Regions from separate parts of the Homo sapiens genome. Here region 2 is linked to region 1. Evidence: promoter capture Hi-C in 16 types of primary human blood cells and fetal thymus (Javierre and others, 2016). All regions are on one chromosome and are shown on one strand. Each heading gives the region's core, a stretch centred on a gene start or on the middle of the fragment in contact. The rest is flanking DNA. Distances are from core to core; before and after follow the strand shown.

Region 1 (7,306 bases), core at 2,573-5,072:
TCAGCCTCCCAAGTAGCTGGGAATAAAGGCACATGCCACTATGCCCGGCTGTTTTTAAATTTTTTGTGCAGATGGAGTCTCACTATATTGCCCAGGCTGTTCTTGAACTCCAAGGCTCAAGTGATCCCCCTACCTCAGCCTCCCAAAGTGCTGAGATTACAGTCATGAACCAATGCTCCCAGCCCTGAAATGGAAAATTTCTTTTGTTTGTTTGTTTGTTTGTTTGTTTGTTTTTTGAGACAGAGTCTCACTCTGTCATCCAGGCTGGAGTGCAGTGGCATAATCTCGGCTCACTGCAACCTTCCAACTCCCGGGTTCAAGCGATTCTCTGCCTCAGCCTCCTGAGTAGCTGGGATTACAGGCACCTGCCACTACGCCCAGCTAATTTTTGTATTTTTAGTAGAGACAGGGTTTCACCATCTTGGCCAGGCTAGTCTTGAACTCCTGACCTCAGGTGATCCACCTGCCTCGACCTCCCAAAGTGCTGGGATTACAGGCATGAGCCACTGCGCCCGGCCCTGAAATGGAAATATTTCAAAGGGAAAACATCTAACGTTCAAGTTATTATCTATAGAGCAGTTAACAGGAACTATCATTTAGGGTCCATCGTGAGGCAGAAATTTAAAAATAATAAGTACTGAATTTATTTACTCCAAGAAAAGTAAAAGCTAAGGCCCAGAGTGTGGCAAGGCAAGGGTTAAAAAGAAAAAAGAAAAGCACAAGTTTTCCTCTGCCTAGCAGCTCACTTCCAGGACCTTATCAAGAAGATAACGATGTCCAAATAGCCAAGGCCAAAGGAATGGGCTCCAGACACCCCTCCCTTCCAGAGCAATGTTGAAGGAAAAAAAAAAAAGAGACAGATTCTTTTACTGTTACTCTTTTGCAAGTCTTCTTAAGCATTATTATGTTTTACAAATGTCTGTATTTAGCCAGTTCTTGTTTTTCTTTCAATGCAGCTACAAGGACACTGGCTATGCAAGGTCATAAATTATGTTATGCTATAGATTACATGACCTGTCACTGTATGATTAACTGCTTTTGTTTGGCATCTGTAAGACAGCGTATAAAAACCCCACTTTGTCTTCGTTCAGTCCTCAGCTTTTTGGATATGAATCGTCTGAGCCAGTGCGTACCTAAAATATAAACAAATCCTCCTGTACTCCATATTGGTCTCTCCTTCCTCAGTTTACCACAACAATGGGATTCTAGGACACTAGGTATGAAGCAAATATGAGGAAGTTCAGGGAACAAGCTGACTTAATGATTAATGCTGAAGGTTCTGCAGCTTGGTTTAAGTTTTCTCCTCCCATCCTCCCTGATGAATTTGATAAAGTTTAAAGGGATGGTTTCACCAGGGGCCTTTTCCATTGACTGCAAGGAGGTCATCCGCCTGGTAAATCCTCAGTAGGCCAAGCCTCTTATGTGGCCAGAATGATCCAGTCCATAAGGAAATACCACCTGCTGTGTTTTACAATTAGACCATCCAAGGGGGTCAGGGTTTCCCCGGGGAGTCTGGTGGGCTTTTTATGGGTTTTTTTGTTTTTGATTTTTTTTTTTTTTGAGACAGTGTCTTGCTGAAGTTCAGTAACCTGATCACAGCTCACAGCAGCCTCAAACTTTGGGGCTCAAGTGATCCTCCTGCCTCAGCCTCCTGAGTAGCTGTGATTACAGGTACACACCACCTCTCCTGGCTAATTAAAAAATAGATTTATGGAGATGGGAGTGTCTCACTTCACTGCTCAGGGTGGTCTTCAACTTCGGGCTTCAAGTGATCCTGCCACTTTGGCCTCCCAAAATGTTGGGATTGCAGGCATGAGCCATGGCACCTGGCCTCCCAGGCTGTTGTTGAAAGGTCTTTGCAATCTCTAAGAGTTCTGCAGCAGTTTATTCCCTGACAGCGAGAGTCTCATCCTTTGATCCCATTTTGCAGCAGTAGTTGGGTGTTCACTTTTCTTTCCATAAGGAAGCAAGCTTGCCAGTGACCCTCATCCCCCTCCTCATCGATGACTTCTTTGTCATCAGAGCCTTCCTCTTCATAAATTCCCACGGAATCCAAGTTTTCACGTCCCGATTGGGCTTAGTTATGATAGCTACTGGCTCACACAAGCTGCAACAGCACCCCGTCCCATGGAAGCCACCCGACTCTCTCCTCCCTGAGTTTCCTGTCCTGGGAGCCCCCATCTCTGCTCTCCCGGGCTCCGGGCCCTAGAGCCGCACTGCTGCAGAGCCCAGTTCCCAGGGCAGCTCCCTCCACCTATCCACATCCATCTCCAGCTCTCCACCCTCTCTCCCACCAGCCTGGCCTGGAGGTGCTGCAGTGTCATTGACTGCGAGTCCCTCAGCTGCCACCTCCACCGCGATCTGGAAGTCTTTCAAATGCCCTTAAGTTATCTTAGATTTTTCCTCCCCCACTTTATACATAAGCATAGGAGGAGAGCAGGGACTCTGCTGGTGTCTTATTTACACAATGGGATTGAAGGTGTTTGTCTCGCGAAACTAATCGATGGGGTGAGAAGTAGCTGAATAACCTGCAGGGGGCAGCAGAGCCCAAGGCCAGTGATTCCACGTTGAGGACAGTCTCTGCAGCCTGCAAAGGGAGGGAAAGAGAGTTTCCCTGGGGGCTTCGCGGGCAGCCCACCCCCTTCTACAAGTGGCCTCCAGCTGCTCAGAGCAGCTCCAGAAAGGGTGTGGATTCCGAGAAGCTGCAGAGCCCTGGAAAGCAGAAGACCCATGTGCAGACGCATTTGTGGCGTCTCTGTCCTTTCTGGTGTTGTACCTCTGGAGCTGTCTTCTGGGCAGGGTTTGGGGTTTGACATGCATGGGGTCGTTGGGGTCAGAGTTATTTGTATAGATAAAGAAAATGTGTGGCCGGGCGCGGTGGCTCACGCCTGTAATCCCAGCACTTTGCGGGGCCGAGGCGGGCGGATCAAGAGGTCAGAAGATCGAGACCATCCTGGCTAACACGGTGAAACCCCGTCTCCACTGAAAATACAAAATATTAGCCGGGCGTGGTGGCGGGCGCCTTTAATCCCAGCTACTCCGGAGGCCGAGGTAAGAGAATGGCGTGAACTCGGGAGGCGGAGCTTGCAGTGAGTCGAGATCGCACCACTGCACTCCAGCCTGGGCTACAGAGCAAGACTCCGTCTCAAAAAAAAAAAAAAAAAAAGAAAGAAAGAAAAGAAAATGTGTGAAGATCAGGCTAGAGCTAGAGACAGAATTGTTTGGTGGCGTCACCTGGATAAAGGGTTCATGAAGTTGACAGTTTACTTAGGTCAGAAACAAAACCTGGTGAGAGTTTCCTGCTGGTGAAAATGAAGATCTGAAAGGAGGAAGCATTTTCACAAGGGGATGGGGGTGTGTGAGCAAGGCTTGGCCACGCCTCATCCCCAATTCCGGCCCGCTCGAGGACATATGCCTCTCCTCCTGGTGCAGTCGTGCCTGGCCTGGTCTCGGTTCCCCTGCTGCTCTGAGGCCAGCAGTTGGCTCCTATGGACACTGAGTCTGAAATTCCCTGCACACTCCTGTGACCCCGTGCAGAACGAAGGAGCGGGGACTGTCCCTTGAGTGAGGATGACGCTAGTGTTCTCTTCTATCAATAGCAAGTTTGGCTGAAATGCAAATATCCAATAACCAGAGTGCAGAAAGCAGCTCGCCCTTAGAGAAGCTGTGGCTAGAATCCGTCAGTCTGGCTCTGCGGGGCCTGATACCCAGGGCTTCAGCTGTCACTCAGATGTGGGGGGCGGGACCTAGTATTTCATCCAATCAGAGGTGCTGGGGCGTGGCACTGCCCACAGTTCATCCGGAAATGGAGGGGGTCGCTTTCCTCACCTTCCTCGCTGCGCGGGCGGCGGTTGGTAACCGGTCAGACCAGCCCGAGAGGGACCTGGTGCCTGTACCCAGGCTTCTGTCGCTCTGTCGCCTGCGCTATGCCCTGCTGTAGTCACAGGAGCTGTAGAGAGGACCCCGGTACATCTGAAAGCCGGGAAATGGTGCGTGTGCGGGACCAGATGTCGTGAGACGGGGGAGGGGCTGCCTGGAACAGGCGGGAACCGGCTGTGGCGGGACCCGGGCCTCCCTGTGGGCGACTCCGGGGTCTGGGACCGAGTCCTCCTTGAGCAGTTCGGCCCTCGGTCCCCTTGGCCGCTGGACGGGGCTGGGCCAGCAGCCAGGACCCGGGCGTCCTGTCCCGTCCCTGCGCGGCGACTGCGGCCGCGGCCCCTGCCCCGGAGCCCTCTCTGGGCAGTTCCGCTCCCGCAGCCCCGCGTCTCCCCAGATTGTGCGGAAGCAACGGGAGGGTCATGGAGGCATCCTGACTCGGGTGTGGGGTTCGTGCGTGGGAGGAGCAGTGGTCTGTGGGGCCCCCAGTCCCCACTTTCTCCTGTTAAAAATTAAACTGAGGTACGTTAACAATTAAAGAGTTCATTTGAGCAAACAGCGATTCACGAATGAGAAACACCCCGTCCTGGGTTGTGGTTTGTCAACGGAAAAAGCCAAACTATGTAAAATAAAGAAGTTTATTCAGAGCCGAATAGGAGAGACCTTGGCCGAGGGAAACACAACCCCAAGCAGCCTGGAGTAAGTGGTCCCGAGGCGGCTCAAGACAGTTTGGTTTTATTCATTTCAGAGAGACAGGAATTGCAGGGAAAATGATGAATCAGTGCCTGAAAGGTGTAAGTTCCATTGGCAGAAAGGGTGGGACCTGTGGAAGGGGGGTTAGAAGGCACAGGTGGTTGAGGGATTCTGTAGGTGGCAGCTGGTTGAGAGTGTGAAGTTTGTCTAAAGTTTGGAGGAGGTAGGAAGGAAGGGGGTCTGTTATCTGCCACTTGATTCCATCCCAGCCAGAAAACAGACCTGTTTCTCTAGATTTTATGAATTCTGAGGCGTGACTTTACTTTTGCCTTGCGTGGCCTTAGGTTTTGTTTGTAAGTTAGTATCTTCTTGCCACAAGCAGTCTGTTTTTCCATTCTATCTATTTTTACATGAATGTGTGGGAGAGGGTATAAGGAGACCTGTCTCACCTCCCATCCTGTCATACAGAGGCACTCAATTTTCAGGGTTTTTTGCGGGTCCTGTTGGCCAAGAGCCGGTCACTTCACTTAGCTGGAAAGGTACTTTGTTTTTATTTGAGACGGAGTCTCCTGTCGCCCAGACTGGAGTGCAATGGCCTGATCTCGGCTCACTGCAACCTCCACCTTCCGGGTTCAAGTGATTCTCCTGCCTCAGCCTCCTGAGTAGCTGGGATTGCAGGCATGCACCACTATGCCCTCCTAATTTTTGTATTTTTAGTAGAGATGGGGTTTCACCATGTTGGCCAGGCTGGTCTCGAACTCCTGACCTCAAGTGATCCACCCACCTCAGCCTCCCAAAGTGCTGGGATTACAGATGTGAGCCATCTCGCCGGGCCAGAGGTATGTTTTTATTTTTAGTTTACCAGTTTAGGGGTAAGCTTTTATAAGTTACGTGAGGAGACAAACCAGATAAATGCTTGATTGGTTGCAGAGATGCAGTTGCCTTATTTGGACTTGTCACTCCGAAATAATAGAAAGGTCAAGATTTCAGTTGGAAGAGTTTATTCAAGCGGAAGGATAGCAGTGGCCCATTTGGGAAAAACACAGACTCTAGGGAAATAGACTCAGTACTCCAAAACTGGAAGTTAAGTTCTTGCTTGTATTACCAGGAAAAGAGGTCCTGATCAGACCCCAGGAGAGTTCTTGAATCTCACACAGGAAGGAATTCAAGACGAGTCACAAAGTGCAGTGAGAAGAGAGTTTATTGAAAGCTACTCTGGGCCAGCATGATGGCTTAGGCCTGTAATCCAAGCACTTTGGGAGGCCAAGGTGGGAGGATAACTTGAGGTCAGGAGTTCGAGACCAGCCTGGGCAACATAGTGAAACCCCATCTCTTCCAAAACTAGCAAAAATTAGCCGGGTGTGGTGGCCTGCACCTGTAGTCCCAGGTGTTCAGGAGGCTGATGTGAGAGAATCACTTGAACCCCAGAGGCAGAGGTTGCAGCCCAGCCGAGGATGTACCACTGCACTCCAGTGTGGGTAACAGAGTGAGACCCCATCTCAAAAACCAAAACAAACAGGAAAGAGGTCAAGACCAACCTGGCCAACACAGCGAGACCCTGTCTCTATTTAAATAAATAAATAAATAAATAAATAAATAAATAAATAAATAGAAAAGGAAAAAGAAAGAAAAAGCTTCTCTGTTTCAGAGTAGGGCATCCTCATACAGCAAGTGGAGGAACGTACTGTCTTTAAGTTTTTCTTATGTAGGGATCTTTTCTATGTAAAGAATAAACTACCTGTGCCTATGTGCATGTGGGCTGACAGCATCACAAAATTTATTACTCTGTTGATTTAAAGAAAACTATCCTTTACATTTTAGCACCCAAGTGCATTAAAACATAACTATAATTATCTTGAAAGCACATATTGTTATAGGTATTGGGACATCAGGACATTCTATTGTTGTGGGAGTGTAAGGATACTTGCAGGCATCTTCAGGCTGTTTTCTTCATGGGAAACATTTTGTGATCATGGGTTGTGACTGACAAGGAGTGTTTCTTGTTAGTGTCAAGATGGAGCTGAACTTAAATTGGTGTTACTCTGGCTCCCCTAGGCACCTGCTTCCCTAACACTTGTATAGGCAAAAGGCAAATAAATGTAACAGGATTATGTTTTCCATAGAAGGCTGATGTATGAGATACAACAATTTTTTTTTTTTTTGAGACAGTATCTTGCTCTGTGACCCAGCCTAGAGCAGTGGTGCGATGATGGCTTACTGCAGCCTTGACCTCCCCAGCTCAAGCACCTCCGCCTCTCAAGTAGCTAAGACTACAATTGCCCACCAGCACACCTGGCTAATTTTTTATTTTTTACAGAGGTTAGGTCTCGTTATGTTGCCCAGGCTGGTCTCTGGCTCCTGGCCTCAAACAGTCCTGCTTCCTTGGCCTCCAAAAGTGCTGGGATTACAGATACAGATATCAGCCACTGCACCTGGCTAACAACTTAATTCGTAATGGTTTACTTTTTTCCCCCAGAGCTTGTTTTCTTTTCTTTCTAGCTGGTTTTTATTTCCTTTTCAATTTAAGAGTGAATTTAACATTCCATCTGAAGACAATCTGATAGCCATGAAATCTTTGTGTGAGAAAGTAGTCTCTGGGCCGGGCGCGGTGGCTCACGCCTGTAATCCCAGCACTTTGGGAGGCCGAGGCGGGCGGATCACGAGGTCAGGAGATCGAGACCATCCCGGCTAAAACGGTGAAACCCCGTCTCTACTAAAAATACAAAAAATTAGCCGG
Region 2 (7,306 bases), core at 2,583-5,082, 260 kb after region 1:
GCAGCACTTTAGTGACAGGATGGGGGTTGGGGGGATGTCCCATGTGATAGGATGACCTGACTGGGCAGTTAAGTCAGATTTCTCTGTGTTCCAGGTTAGAGTGGCCTTCCCTGATTTTGTCACCTTAAGAAGATTTGTTTACTTACTTCATCATGTAAAATGTATTTTACCATTAAAGCTTGAAAGATAGGCTAAAATATTTCCAAAGAGATGAGAGGTGTATCTCAGAAAAATAAATATCTACCCTTATATTTGTTAAAAATTTGTATTTAATTTTTCCCCCCAGAACATATATGCAGTAAGTTTCTCAGGTCTGTTCTTTTTTGTGATTTTGTTGTTGTTGTTGTTGTTTTGTTTTTTTTTGGTTTGTTTGTTTGAGACACAGTCTGGCTCCAGGCTGGAGTTCAGTGGCACAATCACGTCTCACTGCAACCTCCACCTCCCCGGTTCAAGCAATCCTCCCACCTCAGCCTCCTGAGCAGCTAGAACCATAGGTGCAGGCTACACGACTGGCTAATTTTTTGTAGAGATAGGGTTTCACCATGTTGCCCAGGCTGGTCTCAATCTCCTGAGCTCAAGTGATCCTCCTACCTTGGCCTCCCGAAGTGCTGGGATTTTAGGCGTGAGCCACCACTCCCAGCTCCTTTTTTGTGATTTCAAATAGAATCCTAGAGTGTAGCCTTGAGAAGGCTACAGGGAGAAAAAGCTCAGAGAAATAGGGAGAATCACTCTTCATTATGGCTTCACATAACTGAATCTATCTATCTATCTATCTATCTATCTATCTATCTATCTATCTATCTATCTATCTATGTTTATCTTGAGACAGGGTCTTCCTCTTTTGCCCAGGTTGGAGTGCATTGGCACCCATCATAGCTTGCTGCATTCTCATACTCCTGGTCTCAAGCAGTCCTCTCACCTCAGCCTCCTGAGTAGCTGGGACTACAGGCGTGCACCACCACTGCTGGCTAATTTTTAAATTTTTCTGTAGAGATGGAGGTTCTCACTGTGTTGCCTAAACTGATGTTGAATTCCTGGGCTCAAACAATCCTTCTGCCTCAACCTCCCAATGTGATGGAATTACAGGTGTGAGCCAGTTCACCCGGCCACTGATACATTTTGATGAGAAAGTAGGTAGATAAATTGGTGAATTCACCAATTTATTTTCACCAATTTAGTGAAGATTCATCAAGCTGGGTGTGGTGGCTCACGCCTGTAATCCCAGCACTTCGGGAGGCCAAGGCTGGCAGATACTTGCGGTCAGGAGTTTGGGTCCAGCCTGGCCAACATGGTGAAACCCCATCTCTATTAAACATACAAAAATTAGCTGGGTGTGGTGGCACGTGCCTGTACTCCCACCTCCTCGGGAGGTTGAGGCGGGATAATCCCTTGAGCCTGGGAGGCAGAGGTTGCAGTGACCCAAGACCCTGCCACTGCACTCCAGCCTGGGCGACAGAGCAAGACTCCATCCAAAAAAAAAAAGAGGGCTGGGTGTGGTGGCTCACGCCTGTAATCCCAGCACTTTGGGAGGCCGAGGTGGGCAGATCACGAGGTCAGGAGATTGAGACCATCCTGGCTAACATGGTGAAACCCTGTCTGTACTAAAAAATACAAAAAATTAGTCAGGCGTGGTGGCAGGTGCCTGTAGTCCCAGCTACTCAGGAGGCTGAGGCAGGAGAATGGCATGAACCCGGGAAGCGGAGCTTGCAGTGAGCCGAGATCACGCCGCTCCAGCCTGGGCAACAGAGAGCCAGACTCCGTCTAAAAAAAAAAAAAAAAAGGTAAAAAATCCTTCATTAGTCTCATTTAGTACTTAATTATATTTGATCTGCAGGATAGGTACAAGCTTGCAAGTATTCTCTCTTAGTATAATAACAGAAGATGGGCTTAATTTTCCCAGTAACCAATTGTGAGAACACATGCGAAATGCTTCCTGGAGTGTTTCTGGGGGCTCATCAGGTGGGCACTATGTGTTGCGCGTGTAACAAATTCCCAAACTCTCAGAAGGTGGGACGCCAGAAATTTTCATATTTTTTCCATAAAGAGTTTAGGCACCGAGCTACTCTTACATAGGTCATTGGGCTCCTTCCCCAAATCCGTTTCCCAGATACCAGGAATGGATGTGATGCAGGACAGGTGCGCCCTAAAATTGGGGCTTATCCCAGGATGGTTTCCAGCTTTGCCCAGGGAAGAATTCAAGGGCAGGCCAGTGGTGTTAGATAACAGTGTTTTATTTAACAGTACTGGTCTTTGTGGATCAGTGCTAACTCATAGGCAGTACACCCAGAGTCAGCAACATATGGTCTCTTGGCAACTATATTTATACCCACTTTCAATTATATGCAAATTAAGTGGTGGGTTATTTAAAACTTTCTAAGGAAGGAATGATAACTTTCAGGTCATTGCCATGGCATTTGTAAGCTGTCATAGCATTGGTGGGAGTGTTTTATGCTAATGAGCAGTGAGAGCATCTAGAGATCGCTGTTCTTGTCGTCTGCTGGTTTTGGCCCCTTTCTTTACTTTATCCTACCTGTGCCAGATCTTGTTTTGGCCAGTAGGGTTGTGATCAGAATACAAGTCCTGTTGGTCTCCTACCTCAGATGAATGTTGTGAGGAGTGAGGAGCCTTTTTTTAAGGGTAAGCAGTCTCAGGACTGCTAATATAAACTCTTTTGCATAGTAGGTGGTAGGACTTCGTTATGACAGGTTCTACAGGTCCACTGTATGAGCAGACATTAGCTGGGACTCAGGCAGCACGTATTACTCCTTGCAACCACCACCAAGAAAGATGATCAGACACTGCTATTGTTCTACCCGATAGTTCCATTCTAGTATGAGAGTTGCTGTGTGGAAGGAAGTGAGTATGATGACCAAACAGTGGAGTAAATGTTTGCAGACCCCTGAAACATGTGAACTTCTTATGAATTGAGTACAGCTCCCCAGCCCTGTCTGTCTCACCCATTCTCCTCTCCACATATGTGGGATGTTTCAGGACTCGGTGGCTTTTGAGGATGTAGATGTGAACTTCACCCAGGAGGAGTGGGCTTTGCTAGATCCTTCCCAGAAGAATCTCTACAGAGATGTGATGTGGGAAACCATGAGGAATCTGGCCTCTATAGGTAAGGATTGTATACTTCCATCACTTAGCAATTAAAGAAGAAGTGCTTCTTGTGCAGTGATGCTGTTCCATGGTTTGCATCATGGAGGGAGAGTACTTGGGGGGCTAAAACAGGCATAGTCACAGGGTATCATGAACCTAGAATCTAATAATTTTTCTATAATTTTGCACTAATTCAGAATTTTTCTGGGTCTCTGTTTTAGGGAAAAAATGGAAGGACCAGAACATTAAAGATCACTACAAACACCGAGGGAGAAATCTAAGGTAATTTGTACTCAGAGAAAGCAAATTCACTTGAAAGTACCTTAGCATGTCATGAAATTTTAAAAACAGGCAAACATAACTGATAAGCCAAGCTTCAAATTGATTTATTTTTTGAATATTTTCCCCAAATACATATTCTTCAGTGTAAACAGATGTTCAGTTTTTATAAAAATGTTCATTTGTCAACAGAATTAAGAAACTATTTAAGAATATCACTGTTTGAGTGATAGTTGCGGTCAAGCCCATTGCAGAGCATTGAATTCATTCATGCTCAAACAAATCAGACTTGGCATCGAGTCTACGCTTTACCTGATAATATTGAAAATGCAAGTTTAATAGCTATTAATATAAAATGATTAACAAATCCTTAGTAATGTCCGTCTCATTTTTTACAGAAGTCATATGTTAGAAAGACTCTATCAAACTAAGGATGGTAGTCAGCGTGGAGGAATTTTTAGCCAGTTTGCAAATCAGAATCTGAGCAAGAAAATCCCTGGAGTGAAACTCTGTGAAAGCATTGTATATGGAGAAGTCAGCATGGGTCAGTCATCCCTTAATAGACACATCAAAGATCACAGTGGACATGAACCAAAGGAATATCAGGAATATGGAGAGAAGCCAGATACACGTAACCAGTGTTGGAAACCCTTCAGTTCTCACCACTCCTTTCGAACACATGAGATAATTCACACTGGAGAGAAACTCTATGATTGTAAGGAATGTGGAAAAACCTTCTTTTCTCTCAAAAGAATTAGAAGACACATCATCACACACAGTGGATATACACCATATAAATGTAAGGTGTGTGGGAAAGCTTTTGATTATCCCAGTAGATTTCGAACACATGAAAGAAGTCACACTGGAGAGAAACCCTATGAATGTCAGGAATGTGGAAAAGCCTTCACTTGTATCACAAGTGTTCGAAGACACATGATAAAGCACACTGGAGATGGACCTTATAAATGTAAGGTATGTGGGAAACCCTTTCATTCTCTGAGTTCATTTCAAGTGCATGAAAGAATTCACACTGGAGAAAAACCCTTTAAATGTAAGCAATGTGGTAAAGCCTTCAGTTGTTCCCCAACCTTACGAATACATGAAAGAACCCATACTGGAGAGAAACCTTATGAATGCAAGCAGTGTGGGAAGGCCTTCAGTTATCTCCCCTCCCTTCGACTACATGAAAGAATTCACACTGGTGAGAAACCCTTCGTATGTAAACAATGTGGTAAAGCCTTTAGATCTGCCAGTACCTTTCAAATACATGAAAGGACTCACACTGGAGAAAAACCTTATGAATGTAAGGAATGTGGGGAAGCATTCAGTTGTATCCCAAGTATGCGAAGACACATGATAAAACATACTGGAGAAGGACCTTATAAATGTAAGGTATGTGGGAAACCCTTTCATTCTCTGAGTCCATTTCGAATACATGAAAGAACTCACACTGGAGAGAAACCTTATGTATGTAAACATTGTGGTAAAGCTTTCGTTTCTTCAACATCAATTCGAATACATGAAAGAACTCATACTGGAGAGAAACCCTATGAGTGTAAGCAATGTGGGAAAGCCTTCAGTTATCTCAACTCCTTTCGAACACATGAAATGATTCACACTGGTGAGAAACCCTTTGAATGTAAGCGATGTGGTAAAGCCTTTAGATCTTCTAGTTCCTTTCGACTACATGAAAGGACTCACACTGGACAGAAACCCTATCATTGCAAGGAATGTGGGAAAGCCTATTCTTGCCGTGCCAGCTTTCAGAGACACATGTTAACACATGCTGAAGATGGACCACCTTATAAATGCATGTGGGAAAGCCTTTAATGCTCTGGGTTCATGTCAGATACATTAAAATACTCACTGAAGAGAAGCCCTATGAATGTAAGTAACGTGGGAAAGCATGAAATTCTGTCAGTGCCTTTTTTAATACATGAAAGAATTCTAGAGAGAAGCCATATACATGTAAGTAACATGGGAAAGCTTTCAATCATTTTAGTTCCTTTCAAATACATGAAAGAACTCATCATGGAGAAAACCAAACAAATGCTTTTTGGAAAGGAACCCATATTTGAGAGAAACCCTGGGTAAAGGGTGTAGGAAAGGTTTTGTCATCACACAACCCTGTCACACATGAATGTGTAGTGGAGAGAACCTTGGTAAATGTAAAGAGTGTGGGAGAGCCTTTAGTCATTTTAGTTCCACTTGAAGCCATGAAAGAACACACAAAAGAGAAAGCTCTTGAATATAAGCAATGTCCACACGTTTTTAGCCAGCCCACATGCTTTCAACAACATGTAAGAATGTACCCTGGATCAAAACACTATAAATGTGAAAACTACAAGGAAGGTTTTCCATTATACTTTTAAAGTCATTTGAGGGCTCTGGCTCTGTGGCTTTGTGGGTTAAAGTACTTGTCTGGCAAACAGGAGATGCTGGATTTCAATCCCAGCAGGGCCTCACTAGTTGAGGTATTGAATTTGAACAGATGTTTTGGCTCTGGCTGGGTGTGGTGGCTCACACCTGTAATCCCAGCACTTTGGGAGGCTGAGGCAGGAGGATCACTTGAGGTCAGGAGTTTGAGACCAGTGTGCAAAACATAGCAAGACCTCATCTCAGAAAAAAAAAAAAAGTCATTTGAAAACTTCTAATACAGCAAAATCCTATAAATGTAAGTACTTCAAAAAGCCTCATGCATAGCGGGTCATGTAGTCTCTAGAAAATACATAACCTGATGGAAATGTAGAAGCTATATGTATATTTTGTTAATTAGTGGCTCATATTTAAAATAGTTCTCTGACTATGGATTTCAAATGCTTAATCTCACAAAGAAATGTTAAATTGATATAATCCTGTAAGTAATCTGAAAGCAATAGTGCATGAATTTCATAGGTAGTGTTGTTTTAGGTCAGTAAATAAAATATTTGTCTTTCCATTTTGAAATGTGTTTAATCCAACAATGAATTTAAATGTGTTTCTCATATTCAGGTATGTTAAATTGTATATGGTTGCTTAATTGTTCTGTGATTGAGGACCACTGAAAAATAAGTCTTAATAAATGTTGGTATGAACCTACTTGCTTCATTTAGCAGGTTCTTGATTCCCTTTCCACATTATATACATTCCATCATATTTATTGGAACAGCTCCTTTTTTTTCCTTTTTTCTTTTTTCTTTCTTCTTTTTTCTTTTTGAGACAGGGTCTCGCTCTGTGCTCTGTTGCCCAAGCTGGAGTACAGTGGCATGATCTCGGCTCATTGCAACCTCTGCCTTCTGGGTTCAAGTGATTCTCCCACCTTAGCCTCCTAGGAAGCTGGGACTACAGGCATGTGCCACCACACCTGGCTAATTTTTTGTATTTCTAGTAGAGATGGGGTTTCACCATGTTGGCCAGGCTGGTAGAACTCCTGACCTCAAGTGATCCACCCACCTCAGCCTCCTAAAGTCTGGGATTACACGTGTGAGCCATCACACCTAGCCCATTTTTTTTTTCTTGGCTCAAATAATTTTATTTTGCTTCCTATTAAAGAGTTGTTGTTAATTCTAAGTATGTAAAGTTTATCACAGACTGTAGTCTCGTGAATTATTATTTTAACCTGTTGTTCTTTACTCCTTGTTATTTATTCTGGCTGCTCTTTGTATAATTGATTTTGGGATAAGGAGACAGCTATGATAGAATAATAAAATCTAAAATGGGAGATGCCTTTCATGGATTGTGTCATGTCAATCTGGGTAATGGGAACTAAACTTTTCAGACTTCATTTCTTTCTTTCTTTCTGAAATAGGGTCTCACTCTGTCACTCAGGCTGGAGTGCAGTGGCACGACTGTGGCTCACTGTAACCTCAAACTCTGGAGCTCAGGTGGCCTTCCGACCTCAGCCTCCCAAATGGCTGGAACTATAGGTATGTGCCACCAAGCCCAGCTA

Evidence for each region. The method cuts DNA at HindIII sites, captures the fragments that hold promoters and counts their contacts. A CHiCAGO score of 5 or more calls a contact.
Region 2: a contact is called between a fragment that was not itself captured here and the fragment with the promoter of ZNF700 in region 1, in 1 of 17 cell types (naive CD4 T cells). The highest score is 5.2, in naive CD4 T cells.

What each region holds. Positions count from the first base shown.
Region 1 is chr19:11,921,285-11,928,590 of GRCh38, forward strand. It overlaps ZNF700 (zinc finger protein 700), which reads left to right and starts at 3,823. Exons shown (of 4, transcript NM_144566.3): 1 at 3,823-3,989. The coding sequence starts at 3,927. It also overlaps a transcript of ZNF69 not described here. RefSeq lists enhancers at 1,729-2,519, 2,520-3,309, 3,466-4,038, 3,486-3,535, 3,586-3,695 and a silencer at 4,086-4,285. The HindIII fragment of the contact is 3,475 bases long and covers 1,970-5,444 here.
Region 2 is chr19:12,182,794-12,190,099 of GRCh38, forward strand. ZNF136 (zinc finger protein 136) reads left to right here. Exons shown (of 4, transcript NM_003437.5): 2 at 2,992-3,118; 3 at 3,321-3,381; 4 at 3,777-7,078. The coding sequence ends at 5,208. Among named protein-coding and RNA genes, the nearest start is that of ZNF136, 23 kb to the left of the region's middle. The HindIII fragment of the contact is 722 bases long and covers 3,472-4,193 here.